2 separate regions of the Homo sapiens genome follow, and region 2 is linked to region 1. Evidence: promoter capture Hi-C in 16 types of primary human blood cells and fetal thymus (Javierre and others, 2016). All regions are on one chromosome and are shown on one strand. The core of a region is centred on a gene start or on the middle of the fragment in contact, and the rest is flanking DNA. Distances in the headings are between cores, read along the strand shown.

The links. The method cuts DNA at HindIII sites, captures the fragments that hold promoters and counts their contacts. A CHiCAGO score of 5 or more calls a contact.
Region 2: a contact is called between the fragment with the promoter of LTV1 here and the fragment with the promoter of SHPRH in region 1, in 1 of 17 cell types (total B cells). The highest score is 7.0, in total B cells.

Annotation. Positions count from the first base shown.
Region 1 is chr6:145,960,729-145,967,537 of GRCh38, forward strand. SHPRH (SNF2 histone linker PHD RING helicase) reads right to left here and starts at 3,630. Exons shown (of 30, transcript NM_001042683.3): 1 at 3,003-3,630. RefSeq lists enhancers at 3,147-3,276, 3,387-3,606, 3,518-4,505, 4,057-4,106. The HindIII fragment of the contact is 1,513 bases long and covers 2,717-4,229 here.
Region 2 is chr6:143,838,520-143,845,855 of GRCh38, forward strand. It overlaps LTV1 (LTV1 ribosome biogenesis factor), which reads left to right and starts at 4,819. Exons shown (of 11, transcript NM_032860.5): 1 at 4,819-4,961; 2 at 5,967-6,098. The coding sequence starts at 4,959. RefSeq lists enhancers at 4,623-4,672, 4,853-5,062, 5,253-5,322. The HindIII fragment of the contact is 13,446 bases long and covers 1-7,336 here.

The sequences.
Region 1 (6,809 bases), core at 2,380-4,879:
GTACTAGAAATTTGGCCTGTATTCCATAAATGGTAGTTGCTACTTATCATCATCCTGAGAACACTCTAAACCAGCAGTTCCCAACCTTTTTGGTACCATAAATGGGTTTCATGGAAGACAAGTTTTCCATGGACCGGAGGAGAGGGGTGGAGTGGAGAGGGGGTTGTTTAGGGATGAAACTATTCCACCTTAGATCATCAGGCATTAGGTTTTAATAAGAAGTGCACAACCTAGATCCTGCGCATATGCAGTTCACGATAGCATTCATGCTCTTATGGTAATCTACTGACTGTTGATCTGACAGGAGGCACAGCTCAGGTGGTAATGCTCGCTTGCCCGCAACTCACCTCCTGCAATGCAGCCCGGTTCTAACAGGCCACGGACTGGCACCGGTCCATGGCCTGAGGGGTGGGGACCCCTGCTCTAAACCACATTTCACAATAACCAAACTGTAATGTCGCAGGATGGGGGACCACAGATTAGTGCTTCTCAAACTTGACTGCACATTAGAATCACCAGGGGAACTTAAAAAAATCCTGATGTCGAGCCAACTAAGTCAGAATGTCTTGGAGAAGGGCCCAGGCACTACTCCCTTTATTTTTTAGAATCCCTAAAAAATTCCAGGGTGCAGCCAAGTTCAAAAAACCTTGTTATGGATAACCAGCTGCCAACTAAAATCCACTTATTTCCACTCAAAGTATAGAGTAGTTGAGAAATGACTGCCCAGCTTGGTTTGGTCCTGTGACCAGTCCTAGCCAATGGAATGTGAGAAGTAATATGTGCCATGTTTCCCACAATAATTTTGTAACAGACATATTACCAAACCAGAAAACATTACTTCAACTATTTATTCTGTTCTCTGGTAAAACCTATCCAGTATCTTTTAAATTATGTACACCATTATAATTTGCACATTCCTTCAGATGTATTCTTTCAGCCTGATTCTTCCAATATTAGTGCCTCAAGGTACTTATCAGTGATAATGATAAACTGCAGAAAAGTCAACACCAGAATTTCTAGCAATGCTCTCCCTTTGTCCAGTTCTTAACTGAGTAAACATTCATGATCAAAAATCAACCAACCAAACAAAAAGCTCCTGGTTTTGACTGAGTCTTTACTTAAGGAAATCTCTATTCAGGGTTAACTTCTTGAACCAAAGAAAATAGTATTTGGTCAAATATACTTATGACTAAAATGCAATTTGGCAACTAGTAAGTCAAGTACTGGTGAAATTCTGTATCTAACCACATCCCATATTCTTCTGGTTTTATTCATACCTTATCAGTCACAACTACTTCTTCCTCCTCCTTAATTAGCAGTGTTTGGGTAAAACGTAATTATGTGAAGTTTTCTATATGGACCGCACTTTTACTGTCTTGTATTTAAATATAAAAGCCTTTTGCTTGAATTGCTTTTATGCCTGTCTCCATCCCAATCTTCCCTGGAAAGGCTTCCATGACTAGAGAAGCTGAGTTAAGGGCCTCTCTCTCCTCGATCCCAACTGCTAGAGTGTTCACTTTGAAAGATGGGCAGGAGTAGTATCCTATTCAGTGTTGTACTCCCAATGCCAGGTCAGTGCTAGGAAGTAAAGACATACAAAAAGGGTGAAACAAAGATCTCTAATTCCGTGGATGTATTCCCTCCTTTTGAGGACCTAACGATACTTTACTCTTATTTCTTTTTGGAGAAGTCTCTCTTATCCACATTCTAGAAGACTATAGGTAATATGAAACTAGTATTTCTGAGAAAAATGAAATACTAGAACGAGGCAGGGAAAACTGCCTGAACTGTATCTTTAACAGAAAACAAGGATGGAATGCTAGAAAAATAAACATAAAATGTTACATTACTAAGACAATCCAACAAATGAATAACACAACTTAAATTCACATTTTTTCCCTCCAAAATATTATTTCCTCTTTAAAAGATACACACAAATCTTGAATTACAACAAATCCATGGTAGATCTGGGTTTAGGCTATTAAGGGCAAAAAGGATTACATACTTGCCATATTCCTGTCCAAAATGTTGTGTTATGGAAATGAAGCCCACTCATTACTAAGTACTAGGAAGCTCTTAATGACCCAGGGTTAACATAATCTTTTCCTTTTCTGTAGAAATAATTCCAGCAAGGTGAGAGTATTTTCTTCTACTGAATGCTAAAATATGCTAGTTACATAAACTTTAAAAATGCCCTCATAAGAAGCTTTTTCACCAGCAAATTGTTTCCCCTAAATCTTACTGGCCTAAACTCTTAATAATAAAAGTTTTGTTTTAATAATTCTGTAAGTCCAGCTCCTTTCGGGTGGACAAAGAGGATATACAAGAGCATCTCTCAAAAGTAAACTATTTTATTCTCAATTGCCAGCTTACTGGTTAACTGGTCCTTTAAAGCTCTAGAAAGTGCAGGTTATCGAGCACAGACATAATCATTACAATACTGCTCAGGACTGCTCTGTCTCCAGCATGTTTACTAATCATAAACTAAATAGTCTTTTTTGTGACAGTAGAGATATCATGGATCGTTTCTATTCAAGAGTTTCATCATTCCTACTAATGCCCACTGGAATAATTTAAAGTAACAGTAATAACTTTATCTTATTTTGTTCAGAAAAAGCCCCAAGTTCCTTAAGTTCCTTAAGTACAAGTTGGAAGGCATCAAACATCTCGGATTTCTACCTCGTGCTAATGTCAAACTACTTGGAAAAAGGGCACAAGCTTCCTGGTCATTATTTAACTGATCATTATACAGTGACTATTAATCATCAAATAACACCCTATCTTCGTTCATAAACATAGCAACTACCAGTCAAACTGTACAATGTCAAAGAGTGGTTCTGAATTCGAATGTAATTAATCTGGCTCCAAAGGTAACGGAGAACTTTGAGTGGGACTGAGAAACCTCTGCCTCCCCTTTTACTAATACAATGCCGCGCACAAAGAAGGGAGGCGGCGACCCAGTTCCAGCCTCCGGGGGTAGATCTGCGGCGCACGGTACCCACTCAGTTATCTTCCGAAAGACCCACAAGCGGCTCCCGGAGTCTGAGCGGGGCTGTCAGCGCCGGATCGCTCCCAGCAGGCCGAGCAAACAAGCGACCGCGAGGCCAAGGAGCGTGACGACGGACTCCCGGATCCTAGTGTGTTGGACGCTCGAGACAAACACCGCAGGCCCCAGTGCATGAGGAGAAGCACAGCCTCCTTTCCCACGACCCCACTTTATCCCCGGAGGGACGTGGTGGTCCGAAGTTCGCTAGTCCGGGATCGGGAAGAGGTGGGGAAGACTCGCGCAGCGGCTCCCTCTCAGCCCTTGAGCTTCCCGGGCTCCAGGACAACCAGCGTCCTCCCTCCCTGGTCCCGGAGGCCAAAGACCACCTCCCTCCCTCCCTCCCGACCTCTGACCCCTGACCTTCCATCACCCAAGCGCCTACCCAAGCTGGTTCTCCGAGCCTCTTGAGTCTGTTTGCACCAGGCCTGCGCTCCTCTACAGACCCAGCAGATCACGGGCACGCATTCGCCACCCACCGAACATGGGCTTGAGGTGGGCACGAGCGCTTTTTGCCGGAACGTGTAGGGGTCCCCCGGGAGACCCAGAAACCACAGCGCCTAGCTGCCGGGCGCGCGCTGTAGCGTGGGGTCAAGGCGAACGCGCTCGTCAGAGCACCCCGCCCCCTTTCTCCTGCGCTGGCTTCATGAGTCTCTTCTGCGCAAGTTCACACTGTTAAAAACTTGCTGAGGATACAGTGGAGTCTCGCGATAGCTCTGCCCCACGCCATTAGAGAACACAGGATGGCCGAATGCCCGAAGTAGGGGGCGGGGCTCCCCTTGAAGCGAAGGGCGTGTGTGATTTGTATCTCTAATAAAAAGGCAGGGGCCAGGAGCGGTGGCTCACGCCTGTAATCCCACCACTTTGGGAGGCCGAGGCGGGCGGATTTCCTGAGGTCAGGAGTTGGAGAACAGCCTGGCCAAGATAGCGAAACCCCGTCTCTACTAAAAATACAAAAATTAGCCGGGCGTTGTGGTGCGCGCCTGTAGTACCCGCCTGTAGTCCCAGCTGCTCGGGAGGCTGAAGCAGGAGAATGCTTGAACCTGCGAGGCAGAGATTGAGTAAGCCGACATCTCCCCACTGGGTGATAGAATGAGACTCCGTCTCACAAAAGAAAAGCAGAAAAGAATTCTGCAAAAGCATCTATTTTACTGCTATAAAGCAGCCACTAAGTAGGTACGAATAAAGCTTCTCCCCCTCAAAAACAGACTTTAAAGGGAAATGTGAATAAATATTCAAAGATGAGAGAAACTATTAAATACATGTGTTGCGCTGAAGCTGGCCTTCCACTATTGGTCTTTTTTCCTCTCACCTCTTCCTCATAGAAGTGACCTTAATGTTGGAATAACTCTGAGAGGCTTCAGGGTCAGGAGCCTGTGAAATAACCCTCAGGAAACACTGGGGACTCAGTACTTAGTTAGTGAGTACCTAATAGCAGCTTTTCTGCTGTGGAGGCCTTTTGGGTTGTGTGACCACAGAAGCACTTGAACTAAGTTCTTGTCCAAGTGAATATCGGTTGTAGTTGTGTTAGACAGTCCAGGGTAGTCCATATTTTACTTAGTATATTCCTTTATCACAGATACGAAGCTGTTTCCATAAGCAAATCCCCGCCTCCTTTTATTTTGCTTCCCTTTATTGTACTTTGCAGATAATATGTTTTCCTATAAATTGAAGTTTTTTGGCAACCTTACTCAAGCAAGTCTGTCAGCATCATTTTTCAAGCAGCATGTGTTCACTTGCTGTTCATCTGTTATGGTGATCTATGATTAGTTATCTTTGATGTTACTATTGTAGTTTTTTGGGAGCATTACAAACTCTGCTCATAGAAGATGCTAAACTTAATAAATGTTGTGTGTGTTCTGAAAGCTTCACTATTGGCGCCTGTCTCTCTTCCTCTCTTCAGGCCTCCCTATTCTTTGAGACACAACAATATTGAAATTAGGCCAATTAATAACCCTACAATGGACTATTAAGTGTTCAAGTAAAAGGAAGGGTGGCACATCTCTCACTTTAAATCGAAAACCGAAGGAATTTAGTGAGGAAGCCATGTCAAAAGCTGAGATAAGCCAAAAGCTAGGCCTCTTGTACCAAAGTTAGCTAAGTTGTGAATGCAAAGGAAAAGTTCTAGAAGGGAATTAAAAGTGCTACTCCAATGAAAACACAAATGATAAGAAAACGAAACAGCCTCATGCTGATATGGAAAAAGTTTTAGTGGCCTGAATAAAAGATAAAACCAGCCTCAGCATTCCCTTAAGCCAAAGCCTAATCCAGAGCAAGGCCCTAACTTTTTTCAGTTCTGTGAAGGCTGAGAGAGGTGATGAAGCTGTAGCAGAAAAATGTGAAGCAAGCAGAGGTTGGTTCATGAGATTTAAGAAAAGAAGCCATCTCCATAACATCAAAGTACAAGGTGAAGGAGCAAGTGCTGATGTAGAAGCTGTGGCAAGTTTTTCAGAAGATCTAGCTAAAATAATTGAAGCAGGTGGCCACACAAAACAACAGATTTTCCATGTAGATAAGACAGCTTTCTATAGAAAGAAAAGGCCATCTAGGACTTTCATAGCTTCTAAGCTTCACAGGACAGGTTGACTCTCTTGTTAGGGGCTAATGCAGCTAATGACTTGAATTTGAGGCCAATACTCATTTATCATTCTGAAACTCCTAGGGCCCTAAAGAGTTATGCTAAATCTATTCTGTCTGTACTCTATAAATGGAACAATGAAGTGTGGATGACAGCACATCTACTTAACAGCATAGATGTACAGGATATTTTAAGCCCACTGTTCAGACCTACTGCTCAGAAAAAAAAAAGATTCCTTTCAAAATATTACTGCTCATTTATAATGCACCTGGTCACCCAAGAGCTCTGATGGAGATGTACAAGGAGATTAATGTTGTTTTCATGCCTGTTAACACAAAACCCATTCTGCAGCCCATGGATCAAGAGTAATTTTAACTTTGACATCTTATTATTTAAGAAGTAATAAGGCTATGGATGACATAGATAGGAATTCTTCTGATAGATCTAGACAAAGTAAATTAAAAACTTCTGGAAAACATCCACCATTCTGTATGTCATTAACAACATTTGAGATTGGTGGGAGAGGTCAAAATATCATTAATAGTAGTTTAGAAGAAGTTGATTCCATCTCTCAGGAACTCAAAGTCTCAGCTTTGAAGGGATTGAGACTTCAATGGAGGAAGTAACTGCAGATGTGGTGGAAACAGCAAGAGAGCTAGAATTAGAAGTGGGGTCTGAAGATATGACAGAACTGCTGCAATCTCATAGTAAAACTTTAATGGATGAAGAGTTACTTCTTATAGATAAGCCAAGAAACTGGTTTCCTGAGATGGAATATACTCCTGGGAAGATACTGTGAACGTTGTTGAAATGACAGCAAAGATTTTAAAATATTTCATAAATTTAGTGGACAAAGCAGTCCAGAGTTTAAGGGGATTGACTTGAGTTTTGAAAGAAGTTCTACTGTTGGTAAAATGCTATCAAAGAGCAGTTCATATCATGGAGGAATATTTTGTGAAATAAAGAGTCAATTGCTGCAGCCAACTTTTTTAAGCAATATTTTTTAAGCAAGATTTTTTTTAGCAATACAATATTTTTTAAGTTAAGGTAGATACTTTTTTTAGACATAATGCTATTGCACACTTAACACACTACATTGTAGTGTCAGTGTCACTTTTATATGCACTGGGAAACAAAAAAAATATCCTGTGACTTACTTTATTGCAATATTTGCCTTATTGTGGTAGC
Region 2 (7,336 bases), core at 3,569-6,068, 2.1 Mb before region 1:
GGTAGGGTGTGACTCCGAAGCTACAACTGAGTTCACATTCTGGCTTCCTCACTTATGGACTTTGTACCCTGGGGCAAAAGTCACTTAACTTTCTGTTCTGTAATCTCTGCTGAGTAGAAAAGGGTAATTGCATGTCTACTTAAATCTGCTATAAGGATTTAATGAGTAAATGTAGGTAAAATACTTGGAACAGTGCAATTATTATTGAGCCTTTACTATGCTAGGCCCTAAAGACGTTCAAGTCAGCAAGACAAGGATCCTTGCTTTTGAGTAGGTGACTGCAGTCTGGTTCTAGAGATAGATGAAAATAAGAATTCACAATTCAGCATAACTGAGTAGAGTAGTGTGTACAGGATACAGTGAGAACATTCGGAATGATCCCCAGTTTTGAAGAGTATGAAAATGTTTCCTAGAGGCAGAGATGGTGTAGGGTCCCTCAGAGCCCCCCACTTTCTTTCTGTGTCCTGACTAACATAGAGTGCCTCGACCACTCTGTGACCTGGCCAGCTGCATGGGTTTTTTTTTTCCCCCTGTAGGCTTAAAGTTAAGCCTGGGCCTTGAACATTCCCAGGCACTGATAAAGTTGTGTAGGCTATTGCTTCAAACACTGAAAGATCAAAATATGTTACTAAACACATAGAAACTAGCCCCAGCCCTAAGCCAAATTCCCTAAACCCTCACAAACTCCATAACCTGACTTCTCACTGCTGGCATACCTACGTAGAAACATCTCTTTTCGCCCTGTCCACTTAAGCACTCTGTATGTAACTTCTCTAATAAATGCTTTGGACTGATCACCCCAGCGTTTATTGCTTCTTTCTTTGGAATTCTGTCCAGCCCCATCTCGGGATGGTTTGGGGCAGTCCTTCACAGGAATTCCCCTCCTACCCCTTTTGGGTCAACTTAGCTTCAGCTAGACTTGGGTTCAGCCAGAAAAAACAGATGGCTAAACTAGGACTTGGCAAACAAGGAGAGGAGAGAAAGAAAGAGCCTTTTAGATGGGCAGGAGAGAGCCAATGTCTTTCAGGTACATTTGGGAACTGCACAGTTTCACAGGGCTGGATCATGAGTGGAATGTGGGGGAGTAAGGAGACATAGTGTTAAACTGATGGCTGGAGACCAGAAGATATAAAATCTTGGTTGCTCTGCAAAAATAGTTTATCCTGAAGCCCAAGGGTAGACATCAAGGGATTTTTTTTTTTTTTTGAGATGGGGTCTCGCTCTGTTGCCCAAGCTGGAGTGCAGTGGCATGGTCTTGACTCAGTGCACCCTCTGCCTCCTGGGTACGAGCAATTTTCCTGCCTCAAACTCCCAAGTAGTTGGAACTACAGGTGTGTGCCACCATGCCTGGCTAATTTTTGTATTTTTTAGTAGAGACAGGGTTTTGCTATGTTGGCCAGGCTGATCTTGAACTCCTGGCCTCAGGTGATCCGCCTGTCTTGGCCTCCCAAAGTGCTGGGATTACAGGTGTGTGCCACCACGCCTGGCCCATCGAAGGATTTTATACAGGAAAGTGACTTGAGTTTAAAATGATAAATTTGATAAAATGAATAACGAAGTGATACATGTGGATATTTAGAAAGCAGGATGAACAAAATTTGCTGGTTGACTGCCTCAGGGAGGTAGTATAGTATATGGATAAGGGAATGGCCTTCCTAAACAAGCCTGATGGACTACACTTCTAGGCTTTTCTACTTACTGTGTGACCTTAAGTAAATAACTTCAATTCTCTGAACCTCAGATTTCACATCTGCAAGATTGGTTTAGTGTCATTTAATTGTACTTCACTGGCTTGCTGAGGGAATTAGACATCATGAATAAAAAGTGCTTAGCACTGTGTGTTTAGTGTTTAGAATGACAAATATATAAAGTAAGCAGGCTGGCCACAGTGGCCTGTAATCCCAACACTTTGGAAGGCTGTGGTGAGAGGCTCACTTGAGTCCAGGCGTTCAAGACTAGTCTGGGCAACACAGTGAGACCCCTATCTCTACAAAAAATAAAAACATTAGCCGGGCATAGTGGCACACACCTGTGGTCCCAGCTACTCAGCAGGCTGAGGTTAGAGGATTGCTTGAGCCCAGGAGGTCAAGCTGCAGTGAGCCATGTTTACACCGCTGCACTCCAGCCTGGTTGACAGAGCAAGATCCTGTCTCAGAAAAAACAAAGCAGAATATTACTCAGAAGAAAAAAACAAACAAGCAACATGATTAGGTGGCCAGGCTCTAGTTAGGCTCCTTAGGTTTAAATCTCTGCTCTGCCATTTACTAGTGATATGACCTTAAGAAAGGGTATCAGTCCGTTCCCACACTGCTGATAAAGACATACCGGAGGCTGGGTAATTTACAAAGAAAAAGAGGCTTAATGGACTCAGAGTTCCAAGTGGTAAGGAGGCCTCACAATCATGGTGGAAGGCGAAAGGCATGTCTTACATGGCAGCAGGCAAAAGAGAATGAGAGCCAAGTGAAAGGGGAAACCTCTTACAAAACCATCAGACCTCATGAGACTTATTCACTTCCATGAGAACAGTATGGGGAAAACTGCCCCCATGATTCAATTATCTCCCACTGGGTCCCTCTTACAACACATGGGAATTATGAGAGCTATGATTCAAGATGAGATTTGGGTGGCGACACAACCAAACCAAGGTGGGGACACAGCCAAACCATATCAGAAGGTAACTTTCTTATGCTTTTGACCTAAAGAACGATGAGGTGCATAAGGGTTTCAGCCTGCAGAGTGGCCTGACAGGCTGGGAAGCGTAGCCTCCAGCCTGAAGCCAAAAACATACATTCTGAGGGAGGGACAAAGTGAGAGGAAGCAGGGTGGCAGAATATACATATTTAATAAGCTATAGGAGGAATCATGAATATTTATGAAAGGAGAAACATGTACATGTGCAATTGAGCTTCATTGCCCCTTCATGGGTCCTAGGTACAAACAATGGGGCATCAGCATGATCTGAAGAGTTTTCAGCCTCTGATGTCAAAAGGTGAAGTAGAGGCCAATAAAACCCTTACTGTGCCTGCTCCGTAGATTGGCCAGAACCATTCCATAGTGGGTAGTCTGTTACGCACAAAACGGAGGGCAGCAACAGGCTGATATCAGTGGTGGAGTCTTTTGAAAGGGATGGTTTCTATTTATCCCTTAGGGAAGAAAGCCTGATCCTGGTTAGTGAGGGAGGGGATATAACAAGGCAAAGCAAGAACTCAGTTTTCAAGGTTACTCTGGGTCCCCTTGGCCAAAAGGGAGTCCGTTCAGTCAGCTGGGGGGCTTAGTACTTAGTTTGTATTTCTCTTGCCTCATTTTTAGGATTTGTAAGATGCTGAAGATAATTGCGTCTCTTTCATAGTGTTGCAGTGAGGATGAAATGAGATGATTCAGATAAAGTGCCAGAACATTAATTCATTTAAATAAATACTTACTGAGCATATATGCCCCATGCATCAGGCCCCTGATGATACAGCAGTAAGTACAACTGATTGAAAGGAAATGAAAACTGCCCCCTTGGATCTTTTAATTCTATATAATGAATAATAACAACGAATCTCTGGCACATAGGAGTGCTATGTATTATCTCTGTTACAAAGCAATATCCTAAGACAAGTTTTATGGTCCTAACCTAAATTATTTCTATATATATATATTTTTGAGACAGAGTTTCGCTCTTGTCGCCCAGGCTGGAGTGCAATGGCATGATCTCAGCTCACTGCAACCTCTGCCTCCCGGGTTCAAGCTATTCTCCTGCCTCAACCTCCCAAGTAGTTGGGATTACAGGCACCTGCCATCACACCTGGCTAAGTTTTGTATTTTTAGTAGAGACGGGGTTTCACCACGTTGGCTAGTCTGGTCTTGAACTCCTGACCTCAGGTGATCCACCCGCTTCGGCCTCCCAAAGTGCTGGGATGACAGACATGAGCCACCGCGCCTGGCCTATTTCTATAATTTTTACTGTAATAAAAGAATAATACTCCACAAATACTTACAGTGATAATGCCTACGGCATAAAGACACAATCCAGGGTAAGCCATTCATTGAGAGGTCACCAGAAACTGGGAAGTTGGGGAAACAAATTTGAAAAAAAGGTCTGCTGATGAAAGTGACTGCATTTACCACACACTTTCGTCCAAGAAAAGCTATGTGAGTACGCCAACGCCGGCCTGAAATCTTCCTAAGAATGCGTGCTTATAGCCTATTTGTTTAAACAGGGGGAGAAAGTTAACATTCAAACACCAGAGATTCTGAATATATTTTATTAGTTCAAATGCCTCTACAGTTAACAGAGTCTCGGGGGTTTGGTTAACAGGGCAGATGAAAGCAGTTCATGAAACAGTGGAAAATATAACCTGATCAAGTCTGATGCAGTCTATAAAGGCAAGGCCCCAGCCTCCGTTGCTACGGCAACCGACTCCGCCCCCACCCGGAGAGGGAACCTGAAACTTGGCGACCCCAGCACCCCAGCGGGGTGGTCGCCTCCCTTCCGTGTCCGCGGCTTTGTTTTTTATGGTTGGGAATAGGTAAGGGACACAAGTCAAGGGGGATGCTAGATTCGTCCCCTCTGGTCTCCGTAGAGGGAGCTATAAAAGGTTCGTCCACAAGCAGAAACCCCTCTGTGGCGCCTCAACGTTAAGGACCCCCACGATTCCCTTTGCCCGGCGGGAGACTAAAGGCCGGAAAAGTACAGCCCGCCCAGGGGTGGGAGCCGAGCTAGCCCCACCTCCCGGTGGCTTCTCGCGATCGTGGAGACGCAGCGAGCCTATGTAACTTCCGGTCGCGACCCATCAGCTCCTCGGCGATTGGTCCGTTTCCACGGCCGGCTGGGTGACGTTATCGCCGGGTCCTGGGGCTGCACGTGTGGTGAGGCCTACAGAAGCGGCCTTCAGCTGGACCTTGGTCTCCCCGCCGGACTTCGAGGGTGTCATCGCCGCCCCTGTTGGGGGTGAGCGCCGCGCGGCTGCAGCATGGTGAGCAAGCCTTGCTTGTTTCGGCGGCCGAGCGCTGTGGTTTTGCAGAGGCCAGGCTGCTTCCGGTAATACCTTGGCTACTGCGGCCCGGGTCTGGGTCATGCCAGAGGCTGCTTGCGGCACGGTACCCCGAAATGGGCCAACGTCACCACCGTGGGCATTCTTTGCAAGTTACAGTCTCCCACCGCCGAGCCTCCCTGGGATGTGGCCCGGAGAGGAGAATGGCCTTTTTGTTTTATCCCTGGGAGCCTGCAGCCCTGCGTGATTTCGGTTAACTAAAAGCTGGTGACTGCCGACACAAACGCGCAACCCTGTGCTTCTTGGGGTCGAGCAGAGGGAGCTGCTGGTCTCCCTCAGCGTTGGAGTGGCAGGTGTCTGCCTGTCTGTTTCCTCTGAGAAAGGGAACTTGTGGGAGAGCATAAGGTTGGGCCCAAAGTAAAGCCACTTAATTGGTTTCCCAGTTTAGAGAATCAAAATTGAATAGCGAAGTAAGAATGTAGAAAGAGGTGATGGATCTTATTAAACTTTAGCTGTTTGTGTCGTGATTTTATTTACTGGTTGGTAGATGCTCTGTGTGGAGCTGTCTACTCCAGATTATGTTGTGGCAGGCTTCTTGTCATTCTAGTTCAGTCGGCCAGGGGCCTTCCCTGAGCAGCCAGTGTAAAGTAGCTTTTAAGGCATTTTCACGTCACTGTCTTATATTTTCTTCACCGGAAATTATCTTGATTTTCTTGCTAAGAACAGGGACTTTATCTGACTTTCCCACTTCTGTATTCTCAGTTCCCATAACAAGGTCTGGCACAAAGTAGGTGCTCAAGGAATGTTTGTTGAAGGAAGGTTAAGTATGGATTCTGCAGAACACAGCTGATGTTGCCTGCCCTAGAAGTGTAGATTTTTAAAAAGTATCTTTAACATGACTACTAAAGATGCATGTGTGGACTATGGAATTATTCTCCGTCTTTTTGTTCTGTTTTAATTAATTGTTGTGATTTTGTTCCTTTGAAGCCTCACAGGAAGAAAAAGCCCTTTATAGAGAAGAAGAAAGCTGTGTCTTTTCACTTGGTCCACCGGAGCCAACGAGATCCTTTAGCAGCAGATGAGAGTGCACCCCAGAGGGTTCTATTGCCCACACAAAAAGTAGGTCCTGTTCTTTAGCCAGTCAGTTTGTAGGTAGACAATAGTTTTTTTTTTCTTTTTTTTTTTTTAAATAAATAGAGTCTTAGCACGTTGCCCAGGCTGGTCTCGAACTCCTGGACTTAAGCAGTCCTCCCAGCTTGGCCTCCAAAAGTGCTGGGATTACAGGCATGAGCCACCACGCCTTGCTATGTTAATAGTTTTTAATAAATTGTTAGCCAGCTGTTATTCTCAGATAACTGATATTCTGGGAAATAATCTATAAGTTAATTTTCAGTACAATTGGTGATTTTTACATCATTCACATTATTTTGATTGGGAAGACAAAGATCTTTATTTGAGATGTTTAAACGAGCAAATCTTGTAGAATAATGGTAAATATTTACCAAAGCACCAGCTACAATGCGGCATGATGTTATTTAGGGCACCGATATATGCTCAAACTGTGCTTTCTCTAAGATCCTGCCGTTTCATAACCGCAAACTGCATTTTGCCTCCTGCTTGCTCATCTTAGGAAATGTAAAATATCTGAGCTCCTTGGTTAGCTCAGGGAACTTTGCAAGGGAGCCTGGTAAAGATTGACTTAATGTTAGACTCTACTTATTAAGACTCTTAATGTTACACAACACTTATTAAGTGTAGATATTATGAAACAGAGTGTTGGGAAACAGAGTACTGGGGGACATGGGCCACGTTTAGCTTTTCAGTAAAGCCAGTTTTGTTGTATGTTGAGAAGGGTTTTTTTGCATATAAATACAAGAAATTGTACTTACCTTTCAAGGCGCCCAAATCTCTGTTTCCCAGGCTGGCATGCAAAGTGGCTCCATCTCAGCTCACTGCAACTTCTACCTCTTGGGCTCAAGCGATCCTCCCACCTTAGCCTCCAGAGTAGCCGGTACTACAGGCACACGCCACCTGGCCTGGCTGATTTTTAAAATTATTTTGTAGAAACGAGGTCTCACTATTTTGCCCAGGCTGGTCTTGAACTCCAAGGCTCAAGTGATCCTCCTACCTCAGCATCCCAAAGTGCTGGGATTATAGGCATGAGCCACTGCACCTGGCCCCCCAGGTCTTTTCTTATAACCCTCCAAATAGATGATAAAATAAATTGTATGTTTGTTTCTTGACTCAAAATGTTGCACAGAAATGTCTAGTGGAAGGAGCAATTGTTATTTATTTTTATTGCCCTTTTAAAAGCATGAATGTTTTCATTCCATTTTAATGTTACGTAGCACTCTGGT